Linked DNA regions of Homo sapiens: region 1 is linked to region 2. Evidence: promoter capture Hi-C in human tissues and cell types (Jung and others, 2019). All regions are on one chromosome and are shown on one strand. Each heading gives the region's core, a stretch centred on a gene start or on the middle of the fragment in contact. The rest is flanking DNA. Distances are from core to core; before and after follow the strand shown. Region 1 overlaps PAX6 (paired box 6). Region 2 holds the start of WT1 (WT1 transcription factor).

The links. Contacts are between HindIII fragments. The study calls those that stand out against the background at their distance.
Region 1: a contact is called between a fragment that was not itself captured here and the fragment with the promoter of WT1 in region 2, in 1 of the 25 tissues and cell types used here (dorsolateral prefrontal cortex).

Annotation. Positions count from the first base shown.
Region 1 is chr11:31,794,981-31,800,623 of GRCh38, forward strand. The region is part of intron 8 of PAX6 (paired box 6); the gene reads right to left. Among named protein-coding and RNA genes, the nearest start is that of PAX6, 14 kb to the right of the region's middle. RefSeq lists enhancers at 1-1,893, 3,647-4,184. The HindIII fragment of the contact is 5,432 bases long and covers 1-4,477 here.
Region 2 is chr11:32,432,628-32,438,527 of GRCh38, forward strand. It overlaps WT1 (WT1 transcription factor), which reads right to left and starts at 2,912. Exons shown (of 10, transcript NM_024426.6): 1 at 2,073-2,912. The coding sequence starts at 2,733. WT1-AS (WT1 antisense RNA) reads left to right here and starts at 2,891. Exons shown (of 5, transcript NR_120548.1): 1 at 2,891-3,219. RefSeq lists a silencer at 553-690, promoters at 642-1,375, 2,713-3,911, 2,713-3,363, 3,005-3,107, 4,011-4,347, enhancers at 1,261-1,845, 2,953-2,985, 4,649-4,796, 5,386-5,900 and cis regulatory regions at 3,292-3,329, 3,314-3,440, 3,533-3,552. The HindIII fragment of the contact is 5,194 bases long and covers 1-3,852 here.

The DNA.
Region 1 (5,643 bases), core at 512-3,011, 640 kb before region 2:
TTTTTATCAAGATGAGACTTTATAATACACACACTAAGTGGCATTTCTTGAATGAAAAAATAAGCACTGAAGTTTCCAATTAAAATGATCTTTTATAAGTAACCCCAACTCCCCAAATGCCTCACTCCACTCCCTACAGAATCTCTTTACCTATGGCTGTGTTGGGAAAATAGAAGAGTGATGTTCAAGATTTCAGTTGATCTATAATCAGTAATTCCTATCTAATCAATTAGATGTTGATAGGTTTGTAGAAAATGCTATTAAGAAACCAAACCAAGCTTGTAATCTTTTTTAAAAAATATTTATCTAGTTTTTATTTGAATTCTGCACAGTCAATTTCATTTAAAGGTTGTGAATTTAGAAGTGCTCGCATTGTTCTGCAGTTTTATTCAACTATTGTATGAGTGCGCTTCGCCTTGACACCTATTACGAGCACAGCTGTAATTATATCATCACCAAGAACAGGCTATAATTGCTGAAAATGGAATTTTATATTTAGATAAAAGGACTGTCCATTCTTTGTAATGTGTTGCACCAGAGAAAAGTAAGATTTCTTTTAAATTTTTAACGTGTAATTTTAAAAAAGAAATAGTAGAGAGTTCACTAACTAGCTAAATATTCTATGCTGCAGCTGAATCTTTGGCATATCATTTAAGTGGTACATTTTTAATTAGGGCATTTCCACCACTTTGAATGTAACTTCTATCATTATACAGGGGGAAAGTTTTATGGTTTTCCCTTGCTGCCTGGAGGGCAAGATGTGCACTTGGGCTAGCTGGCTCCCGGCTTGCACCTTGCCTGTAAGGCCACAGTGAAGGGAAGCAGGATTGCCTAAACTCTGACTGGGCCTCCAGGGCCACTACAGGCTGGGTCCTGGGTCTGGGGTCCTGAAATGACCCCCAAGGGATACCAGCATGGGCTACCCACCTCCCTATCCTCAAAACTTGGCCAGAGGCGGGGTGGAGGGGCCCCTAGGAGCGCCTTGGTGGGAATCGACTTGGCCAGGAATATTATTTATAACCAGGAGACAATAGGCTGCGCCTTCAAAGAGTTCAGGGAATTGTGACAGGATCTAGTGGGATCTTTTCAGGAACTTTGAAATGTTTTAAAACCCCAACTTTCTCCCCCATTTAAACAGGCGGATTCATCGGCACTGGCCACCATATGGGCCCTTGGAGATCTATTGAGATGACCACCAACACTTGAATAGCGAGGGGCTGCTTTTCAGCGCTGCACAATGCCCCGCGAGTAAGGGAAACTATTAAACTCCTGGGGCAGGAGCGTTGGCAAACTTTCGTGGGCAGAATTTTGAGGCTACAATGAGCGCGGACAACAAAAGGATTCTCTTGAGGCGTGCAGCGGGCCACATTGTGTTACAAGAAGCCCAGTCAACAGACTTTTCAGTGAAGTGTGTTAACCCCTCTGCTCTGCTATCATTAATCACTGTCCGAAGAGCGGGCGCCTCCGTGCTATTTAGGGCGCTTGGCTGGGGGGATGGAGGGTGGATGGGGGGGCCAGGGCCCAGCATGGGGGGAGGCAGGGAGAGTGGACGGGGACCAGGGCTGGGTTCCTACATAGAGGAGATGGAGGGGAGGCAGGATGGAAACCAGCGGTGGGGGTGGAAGCAAGGGGGAAGGATTGGGGGGCCTGGGTTAGGGGAAAGACAGAGGGCGATGGAGGGAAAAAGAGGGCGATGGAGGGGAAAAGAAGGCTCAAAAAACATAGAGGCTAGAAAGGTATTTTTAAAAAAGGACAGAAAAGAATGCTGAGAGGAAAAAGAGACACGAGGGCCGAACAAGAGTGGGAGAGAGAGGAAAAGGAGGATGAGGGCCAGAGAATATTAGTAACTGAGCCCCATCTGGACTCTGGGTCTTTGCACTCCATCAGAAAGGTGGGGGTCGAGGAGGGCTACTTAGCTGAGGGAGACGCGCTCCGCTCACGTGTGCGGGCACAAGCGTCTGTGCTAATTTACTGCCCCAAGTTTCCGGGGACTTTTCAAAGCGTTTTTCAAGGGAAGAAATGAAGCGACCACCCCCACCCCTCGCTTTATTTTCGGGTTTGGTGAAGAAGGAAGACTGGAAATAGCTCCTTTTGGCCAACTAGAAAGGCCGGAGGGTTATTGCTTTTGGAAAACAGACAAAAATCTGTGCACATCTGGTATGGGGTGGGGGACACTGAGGAGAACACAATGCCCATCTCCCCATGGCCACTCATGCCCATGCCTTCCTAGGGGCCCCATCTCGGTCCCTTTTCTGGCACATTCGATCTCGCCAATTAAACAAAGTTGCCCGAATCTGCCTCCGAAGAACCCCGCCGATAGCATGCTCTGCTCTCATTTGCCTCTTTGACATTTTCTTAATTTTAAAACATGGAGATTCACATTCTTATCCATGTTCTGTCTCACACAAACATACACACGGGTTTACACAGGCAGCACGCGATCGCCGCCAGGCCCTGTGCTGCCTCCAGAACTGACACTTAAGAGAGAAAAGTCAGCAGGGACAGTAGAGCTCAATTTTAAATCTGGAAAAAAAAAAAAAAAAAAAAAAGATGGGAAGCGGGGATTGGAATTCCACAGCAAAAAGAAACCTGTCGCTGCAGGATCCCTTCTCTACCCCGCGGGGAGAGCGGCACGGAGACAGTTCATTACTTTAGAAGTGGCAACTGTTTGCAGCCAGGCGGTGACCTAGCGGCTGCTCTTACATAAAATGGGTACATTTCCCCCCACTTTAGTGGATTTGCCTTCCACTCTTAAAGCTTTTAACAAAATAAAACTAGAAGTTGGATCTCGACTCCCCCACCCCCACGATAAACCTAAGTGGTGGACAATTAAGATATCTTCTTCAAAAGGCGCCCCCTCGGAGCCGCGCAAAGCAGGGGCCTTCAGTGGGTGCCGTTCACCTTCCAGCCTAATCCGTGAGAAAGCGAGTGAAAGCGCCTCCCATTATCCCAGCCCCAGGACCATCTGACGATGGGAATAGGATTTGTTTCCTGGAAGGAGGTGAGAGAGAGAGAGAGAGAGAGAGACAGAGAGAGAGTTGCTGGGAAATAAAATCATTCCTTAGTTTCTTAGTGTCTTAATCAGTGAGGCGGAAAACAAGCAAGAAAAGATAGCAACCCGGTTGCGGCACCTTTTCAGCTCTGGAGCGCGGATCAAAACATTGTAGCATCTGTTGAAAGAGAGGCTGACTAAATCCTATAGAGGGCTTGGGTATTATGGGGGGTGGGGGTGGGGTGAGGGGAGGAGATAAGAAAAAGTGTCTCCGTGATCCCTAAAACCACCAAATCGCCGGAGAATTGGGGCTGGATAGAGTTGTCTCTTGTTGTTGTCAGCCCACGTCGTCGCGATTTTATTCACCGCCGCATGGCGTTGATCAGATGGAAACCATATTTGTCTCCCTCTGAGACCTAACCCCCGCCTTATGCTTTTGGAGTATGGACTCTTTAAAACCCAAGAAAGGCTTCCTGGGCTGGGAAAGGGGGCTAGGGAGGGAGGGGGACCCTCTTAGCACCAAAAAGTCTGAGGATTCCCCGGGAACGTGAAGCGAAGCTCACCACCGGTGCCCGCTACCCCCACGCCGGCAACTCTGTGCTTCGTTTGGCCCACGTGTCCTCCCCACGCAACTAGGGGCGACGGTCCTGTGCCTGAGGTGACAATCACCCCCCAAAAACCTCACTTGCGGGTGGGGGGGTGGTGATTGCCAGTTGACCCAGAATTTTCTAGCAACTAGGCGCGTTAAAGTGAAAAGCCCCTGGACTAGCTCCACCTCCGGCCCCAACCATCACAGGCGGACCCTAGCTGATTTGACTCTCACTTCCCGCCCTCAGACTGCCGGCGACGAAAATCCGCCCGAATCGGGCGCCACCTCTGGTGGAAGCTGCTGTCCTCGGCTTCTGCCCAACTCCAAGAAGCGGAAGGGGGGTGTATCCTGCGCCCCAAGCTCATGGGAGCCCACGCACCGGGGAGAGCCCGGAGTGGAGGCTCTGGGCTCAGCCCTCCCAGGCCTAGGCCACCGTGCCCTGAGTCCCTCCCCAAGACTTCTCGGACTAAGTGGGCCAGACTCTTGTCAGGGGAGGGATCACCAGGACCTCAGATTGCTGGGGGCGGAGGGGTGGACGCTCGTGAGTGCGAAGTTCGGGTGTCACTTGGGTGTGTCCAGTGTCTACAAGTGGGAATCCTACGGTTTCAAAAGTCAGGCAGGGATGGGGTTGCCTACACTCGGTGGGGTCAATCGCTAGTCTCACCAGAGGCGGGAGCGGGCCTGGGGGCCCTCTGAGCTCGCGGAGGCGGCGGGTTCGGGGCCCGTGCGGGCGGGGTCGCCCAGGGGAGCCCGGGCCCCGCGCGTCAGGAGGCCTCCGCCGGCCGAGCGGCCGCGCTGGGAAACAAGAAGCGAGCGCTTTGCTCCCTATCTTCCCAGTGTCCGTCCTATATTGTTTTCTGCTCTTAAAACTGACATGTCTAATTGGCAATTGGTGCCGAATCGTGTCCAGAGGTCTCTTGTGGAACATTTCTACAGCTGTCTCCTTCAACTAGACGCTTATTCATGTCGCCTTAATGAGAAACAAAACGTTCTCTAATGAGCAATTACAGAGCGACAGGATTGTTCCCATAACAAATTCTTGCGAGTGACAGAAGCATCCTTTGTACCAGATATTTCGCATACTGTTACCGATTTTCCCTTCCCTCGCCCGACTCCATGGAGGCGCCGGGCATCCGGAGCCGGTCCGAGAGCTCACGGATGCGCCGGCAGCCTCCTCGCAGTCCCGCGCGCCGCCCCTGGCCCCGAGCCCCTCGGCTCCGTTGTGCTCCTGGGAGTGAGACGCCACGTCCCATTATCCCGCATATTATCTCCTTGTCACGAGGACAACAAATACCGATTAATCTTCGGAGTAAACTGTTTCCTATTCTTGACCAAGCTACCTCGGGGTGTGGAGGGGAGCGGAGGGGAGCCAACTGACCCTCCCCTCCGCCCCACCCCCCCCATCCCCCGCTCTTCTTCCTCCAGCCCTTCTCACAGAACCTGGGGTGTTTCAGGTCCCATCTCTCCTCCCAGACCAGAGCGGCTCCCGGCATCCCGCCGTCCTGCTCACAGTATCTTCACCTCACCACTTCCACATAGTCGCCACCCACAGAGAGTGAGAAAGTGGGACCCAGAGGGGCGAACGGGGGAGGGGCAAGGATAGTGGGGTGGTTTTAGTTGGGAGACCACCACTTCCAATGCCCCATCCCCGACTCGCCCTGCATCTCCCTGCTCACCTTTTCATGTGCACCCTACTCATAGTCACATAATTTGTCAATTACAGCAAAAAGCAACAGGATACAATTATGTTAACCTCGCAGTCTGTCAGTGCGTTATCTTGTCACACTTCTACAAGGGGGCTCTCCCTGCATTCTAATGTCAAATTTGAATAGTGCACCACGCAGCTCGTTCTTATGCACACAGTGCTGCCCACAAACACACACACGCACCCACCAGCCACCTTCATACCGCTCCTGACATACACAACCCTCACATTCCCAGGCCAACAAAATGGTTCAACAAACACCACCTACATACAATGTGGTCGATGTGTCCCAGGCCTTCAAATGCAGTCTCACCCATGACATTCCCCAAGCATGGAAGCCCTGAGAGGAAATGGTTG
Region 2 (5,900 bases), core at 1,662-4,161:
ACTAGTCCTGGTCCCCTTTTAACTTTTTCTCCATGGCAGCCACGCCTGTATATTACAGAAGAATCCAGATATTTTCCAGAAGTGTAATGCCTGCTGGCTGCAAAACCCACAGTCCCACCCCCCACGACATGTGATAAGATCCCAGGCACCAGACCTGCCCTGAAAAGGGCTGGACAAGGGACCCAAACGAAGCGACAGAACCCAGGTTTCAAAAATCCCCTAGAAGTACTAAAAAGATAATGGCGTAGTAGTATTTTGTGCCCCAGGGGCATGGATTCGATGGTTTCTCAACCGCCTCCAAATAGCACACATGCAGACAGTGCTCTCGGATTCATTGTTTCTCAGTCACAGATGTTTAGATGGGTTGCCGAGTTCCATATTTAAAGCCCCAAGAGGGTGGTGGGTAGCGCTTCTGCATCTATGGAGTATAACTTCAAGCCGGACCCAATCTCCAGGTTGCCCATCTCAGCTGTCCTCTTATAGACGGGGACACTGAGACCTAGAAACTCCCCAAAAGTAACACCAGCCTGCTAAACAAAGGTGGCGCGATCTGATCAAAGAACACAAGCCTCAGCGACCAGTAAGTTGTCCCAACGCCCCTTGAGTACAAAACACTAATTTCACTAACTAAAAGCATAGAGTGGAGGCAACCCTTGGGTCTGCTTGCGGTTCCTCCACAGGACAGTGATCCCAGATTCTCCCGAAGAAAAGGGCGGTTTCGATTTCTCCAAGGCTTCGCGGGGGCCGGGTGCTCCTGGTTAGGCTAAGGTAGGAGCGGCCTGAAGACGCGCGTTTAGAAGGCGCGGGTGAAGGCGGGCAACAAGGGCAGAGCCCTTCTCCCGAGCCTTGGGCGAAGGTACCTCCTGCAAAAGATACACTCTGCTTCCCACGCATTCCAAAAACATCCCGGTCCCTAGGCCCTCGAGTAATTTTGCTCCAGGAAAAGCATCCGCCATTGTATTAGTAAAGCGTTTACTAAATTACCGAATCAAACCGAACTGGCTTAGGTTCTCAATAGCGTGGAAATCCACTGAAAATAAATGAAGAGGGCAAACTACAGGGGCTCCGCAGGTTCGGGTCCGCGCCGCCCAGGCGAAAGAGAGGTGGGCGGGCATCGGCGCGGGATGAGAAACCAACCTGATACTTATCGTGTGCCGAGTTCCCTCCTTGTATCCTGACTAAGCACAGCGAATAACCCTGTCCTTGTTCTAACCCCAGGTCTTGAAGAAATACTGTCCCAGCTGAGCCCCGCGTTTACAAGATGAAGAGGCGCCCCAGATGCGCTGAAAGAAAGGCCAAAGCTCGTGCCTCCTTCCACTGCCTGCGGTAGAACCTGGTCCCGCATAGCTTGGACTCGGATAAGTCAAGTTCTCTTCCATCCCCAGAACCTGCGTGGCCGCCGCCTGAGCGAAGCCCAGTGAAGATCCACTTCTGTATTACCATACGCGGGAGCTATCCACGGACACGACGCTGTTCCAGAAAGCCATTTAGTTACTGGAGGTGCATGTGCTCATTCTAGTTCTCTACGATACTTAATGTGCACCTAAGTGTGTGCCAACACCGTATTATAAGGGCTGGAGGTGCTCCTGGACATTTTAGCGCTGCGGAGGCAGCACAGCACAGGCGCTCACCCCCGCGCTGGTCCCACTCCGAATCCAGAGTCCAGACGTCTGAAAAGCGCTACGCTTGGTGACAATTTGGCGTTTCCTTAATTAACAAAACTCTCCCCAAGGCAGAGCCAGACACTGCGCCGGTCTCCTGGTTCCACTCCCGTGGGGACTAGCAGTCCCGGAATCTCTCGGACTCTAAGGGGCCCCAGACGCCCTCCCGGCTCTTGCGAACAGTCAGGCTCCTAGCTCTGCCTGGCTTTGGAGGATGTCGGGGGCCAGTGCCTGCGTGCACTCCCACTCTCCGGCCTCCTCCCCAGCCGCCGCTTCCGCTATCCTCACGGCCCTTGGGAAGCAGCTGGGTAAGAGCTGCGGTCAAAAGGGGTAGGAGAGGGGGGTGTCCTAGAGCGGAGAGTCCCTGGCGCCACTGCCCCGCGCGTAGGGGGCGCTCCCCGGCCTACTTACCCTGATTGCGAATAGCGGGCTGGCTCTCGAGGCAGCTGGGCAGGTAGGGCGCGTTAGGAAACATCCTGGCCTGGCCGGATGACGCCTGGCTGGGCGGAGGAGGACCGAAGGGCCCGTAGCGACAGGCTCCGGCTGTGCCAGTGAACTGGCCGGAAAAGTGGACAGTGAAGGCGCTCAGGCACTGCTCCTCGTGCGGCTCCGCGCCGCCCCAGCTCGGCTCCTGTTTGATGAAGGAGTGAGGCGGCGGCGGCGGGGGTGGCGGCGGAGCCGGTGGCGGCGCGGGGCCGCCCAACGACCCGTAAGCCGAAGCGCCCGGGGGCGCAAAGTCCAGCACCGGCGCCCACTGCGCCGCGCCGCTCACAGGCAGGGCACAGCCGCCGCCGCCACCCAGGGAGGGGACGGCGGGCAGCAGCGCGTTCAGGTCCCGCACGTCGGAGCCCATTTGCTGCGGCTCAGACCCGGACGCCCCGCGGCTCCTCCGGCCCTGGAGACGTTCAGCGCTGGCCTCGGCGGCGCCTAACTTGGCCCAGATGCCGCCCGGGTCCCGGACTCCCTGCTGCTCTGGCTGCTGTAGGCACCCAGGCCCGGAGCGGAGCGTGTGCTGAGACGCCGGCTCCGGGACACACGTGGAAGCCGGGTCCTGCAGCAAGAGGAAGTCCAGGATCGCGGCGAGGAGACGGCGGGGCCCGGGCGCCTGGGCTGCCGTCCCGGCTCTGGGTGGGTGGGTGGGTGAATGAGTAGGTGGGAGGGAGGGCGGGAAGTGGGGGAGCGGACAGGCGGTCGGGTTGCGGAGAGCCCCCGGGTGTGGGCGCTGCCTTGAACTCCTTACCCCAGCTGCCTGGCTGCCCTCAGCTTCCCAAAGCTCAAATAAGAGGGGCCGGCGGCGCGGGGAAGAGGAGGAGCCAGGAGGCTCGGCCGCTCCATTCACTCAGCAGCCCAAGCCCGGCCAGGCAGCGCGCGCTGCTCCTTGGGGGCGCCCTCGCAGCTGGGGTGAGGGCGGGTCCGAGGGAGCGTCCCTCTCGGAGACACCCTCCTCTTCAACCCAACACGCGCTCTCAGCTGGCCGGTGTGGCACAACCCTCCCCCCACCTCCCCTTCTTGGCCTTCGCCAGTGTGGGAGCCTCGTCTCACTGGAGAGTCCGTTCAGGTAAGCAGTGAGTCCGGGCAGGGTCGAATGCGGTGGGAGTAGAGATGGGGTTGTTAATCTAAAAGAGTGGTTTGGAGGGAGGGGCAGGTAGGCTCCAAGAGGGCGGGAACTTCAGGAAAGCGCAGAAAGAACTCAGTCAAGCTTCAAAGAAGCGTATACCCTTGCTTTGCACCCTTGAGTCTGGCTCTTGCTTCTAGAACTGTCGGGTAGGGGAGTGGCCATGATCTTGGGGTCACTGGGGAAAGAGGTGGCCCTTTGTGGGTTCCAGAGGTCGGGACTGAAAGCGAACGTCCCTCAGTTGGGTGGCCGGGAGTTGCACCAGTTATAAGCCGGGCGTATTTCGATCGGCTAGTAGTTGTTTACTTGGTGAGGTTTGCGCCAGGCGGAAGGCGGTTGCCGCCTACCTAAAATTGGAGTCAGCAGCACTTAGTTTCCCTTTCCAGTGAGGAATATCTAATTCTTCTACGGTTAAGCCGGGAAAACAGCGGCTAGTTTAGGAGGGAAGAAAACCCTTGGGCAAACGCCCAAAGCCTGCGTATATTCCGGCCGGAGCATCCTGGCGCCCAGTTTGGGGAGGAGGGGTGAAGGGGAGGGTTTGGATACGAAGCCCGGCAGGGAGCGGGTAACTCCTGGAGCCACTCCGCCGAGCACTGCCTGTGGCCCTGGTCGAGGATACCATTCTGGTTGCTCAGTGATTGACCAGGAGGCGGAAGCCAGTTAAGGGGACCAAGGAGTGGAGTAGGGAGAACCTCCATCGGCCCACGGGCGCGAGTTAGTGTTCGAATCTTTGGGAGCTCGAAGAGCTTCGCTAAATCTGACTCCCTTCGTCTAGTCTCTGTTTGGCAGCCCCCGCGCCCCAGAGCAGGTGTTTGGGGCGGGTAGGGGGTGTTTTGGTTTGGTTTTTGGATCTTCTAAAGGAGTCAGTATCTATTGGGAAACAACCCCTAGGCAAGGAGAAGAACCGGGGGCCGGAGCGGAGCGTGTTTCAGAGGTGCGTATAAAATCCCAGGGGCGCCAGGAGGCAGCAGCGACGGCGCAGCGTGGGACGGCCAGGCGCGACGGGAGGGAAGCAACCGGTTGCAGTCCGGCCTCCTGTACCTGGCTGGCCCGGGCTGGGGCTGCAAGCTTTCCAGCCAAACTTATGTGAAGCAAAGTAGTTGCAGTTTGACAAAGAATGGCGTTTCAATAAATGACATAGTAATTTTTTACGCTTTGGTTTTTAGCTTGCATTGCATAAACGTTGTCGCCATTAAATTCTGGCTGCGGACCCGAAGTGTGTGCGGGCCCAGGACTTACTCGAAGGGCGCACTTCTTGGGAATGCGCATCCCGTAGGCGCAGGAGACCCTGAGGGTAAAGATGCGGCACTTGAGCCCTCCGCTTGCCTCCCAGGCCACCTTTGCTGCTTGACTTTGCGTCGTCTCCACTCAGAAGCTTTTAAAATTATTATTAAGAAAAGAAAGATTCTACAAGACACTGCCCCCACGCTCTCTGCTCAGTCCTCTCCCACACGATCTATCCCTAAACCTTTCGCGGGGCTCGCGCGTTTGGTTTTTTGAGTGGAGAAAGGACTCTCGAGACAAAATTCACTGCCAGTTGCCCTAAGAACCCCCCAGATCCCTGTATCTCCCTTCCTTCTCCCCGCCTATTATTTCTACTTGGAAGTCGTTTTTCTTAACTAGGACTCAACTGTGAGGGGCGAGGAGCCCTTTATGAAAAGCCGGGGACTTTCATTTCCAAACGAAAAGATTGAGATTGTTTCTTCTTTTACCATCCTTGGCACTTTTAGCGGGGGGAGAGGAGGTTATCTGAAGGGAGGCTGGCTTGAATGTGAGTCGTTGTGTTTGTGAAACCCAGGTAAGGCAAAGACACGTAAATCTCTGCCAACATTTTTCAAAAATAAGTTTTTGCCCCGGGGTGAGGGATGTAGGGGTGGATAGGAGGAAAGGAGAGCCAAGCAAATGTAGAACTCCTCTCTCCTCTGCCATTTATTTTCTCAGAATCCTTGTGGGGGCGGGGAGGGGAAGAGCACCGGTGCGAACCCCGGGGTGCCCCCTCGCCCGACTTGGACTTCTCCGACTAAAGAGGTGGGAGGAGTTCCCTGCAGCCTGCGGGGCCAAGAAGAAAGTGCTAAGCTGAGGAGCCGCAGTCGGAGGACCCCAGGGACCCGACAGGAAGTCTCCGTACGACCCCAACGGATCCACATGCCCGGAAGCCCAGGCGACACTAAGCCAGCGCTGGGGAACTGACGTACTCCTGCAGTCGCAGGGCGCTCCATGCCTCTCTGTCCTCTTCTTTGTTGTGGGTAACGTTCTCTGCGGGAGACCTGAGGTTTTCCAAGGGGGACATGCCAGCTACACTGGCCTTGGCGCCCTGAGCTAAGCACCAGGACTCACAGCCTAGCACGAAGGCAGGTAGCACCTTCACCCGCCGCGGACGATAGGCGCTCTCCTGTACCTCCTTTAGCTCGCGAGGCCCGCCCTTCGCGAGGTCCCAGAGAAAAGCAGGCTGTGGAAAACTGGGCGCCCCCTTCTTTCACCCACCTTCTTACCCCTGTCAGCGCCGAGATCTGTAGCAGAGGTTCCTGGTCTGAACCACCGATTGGCAAAGAAAGCTGCAGATTAAACTTCTCGTTTTACAGAGAAGGAAACTGAGGCCCAGACAGCCGAAGGAGAGGCAGTCT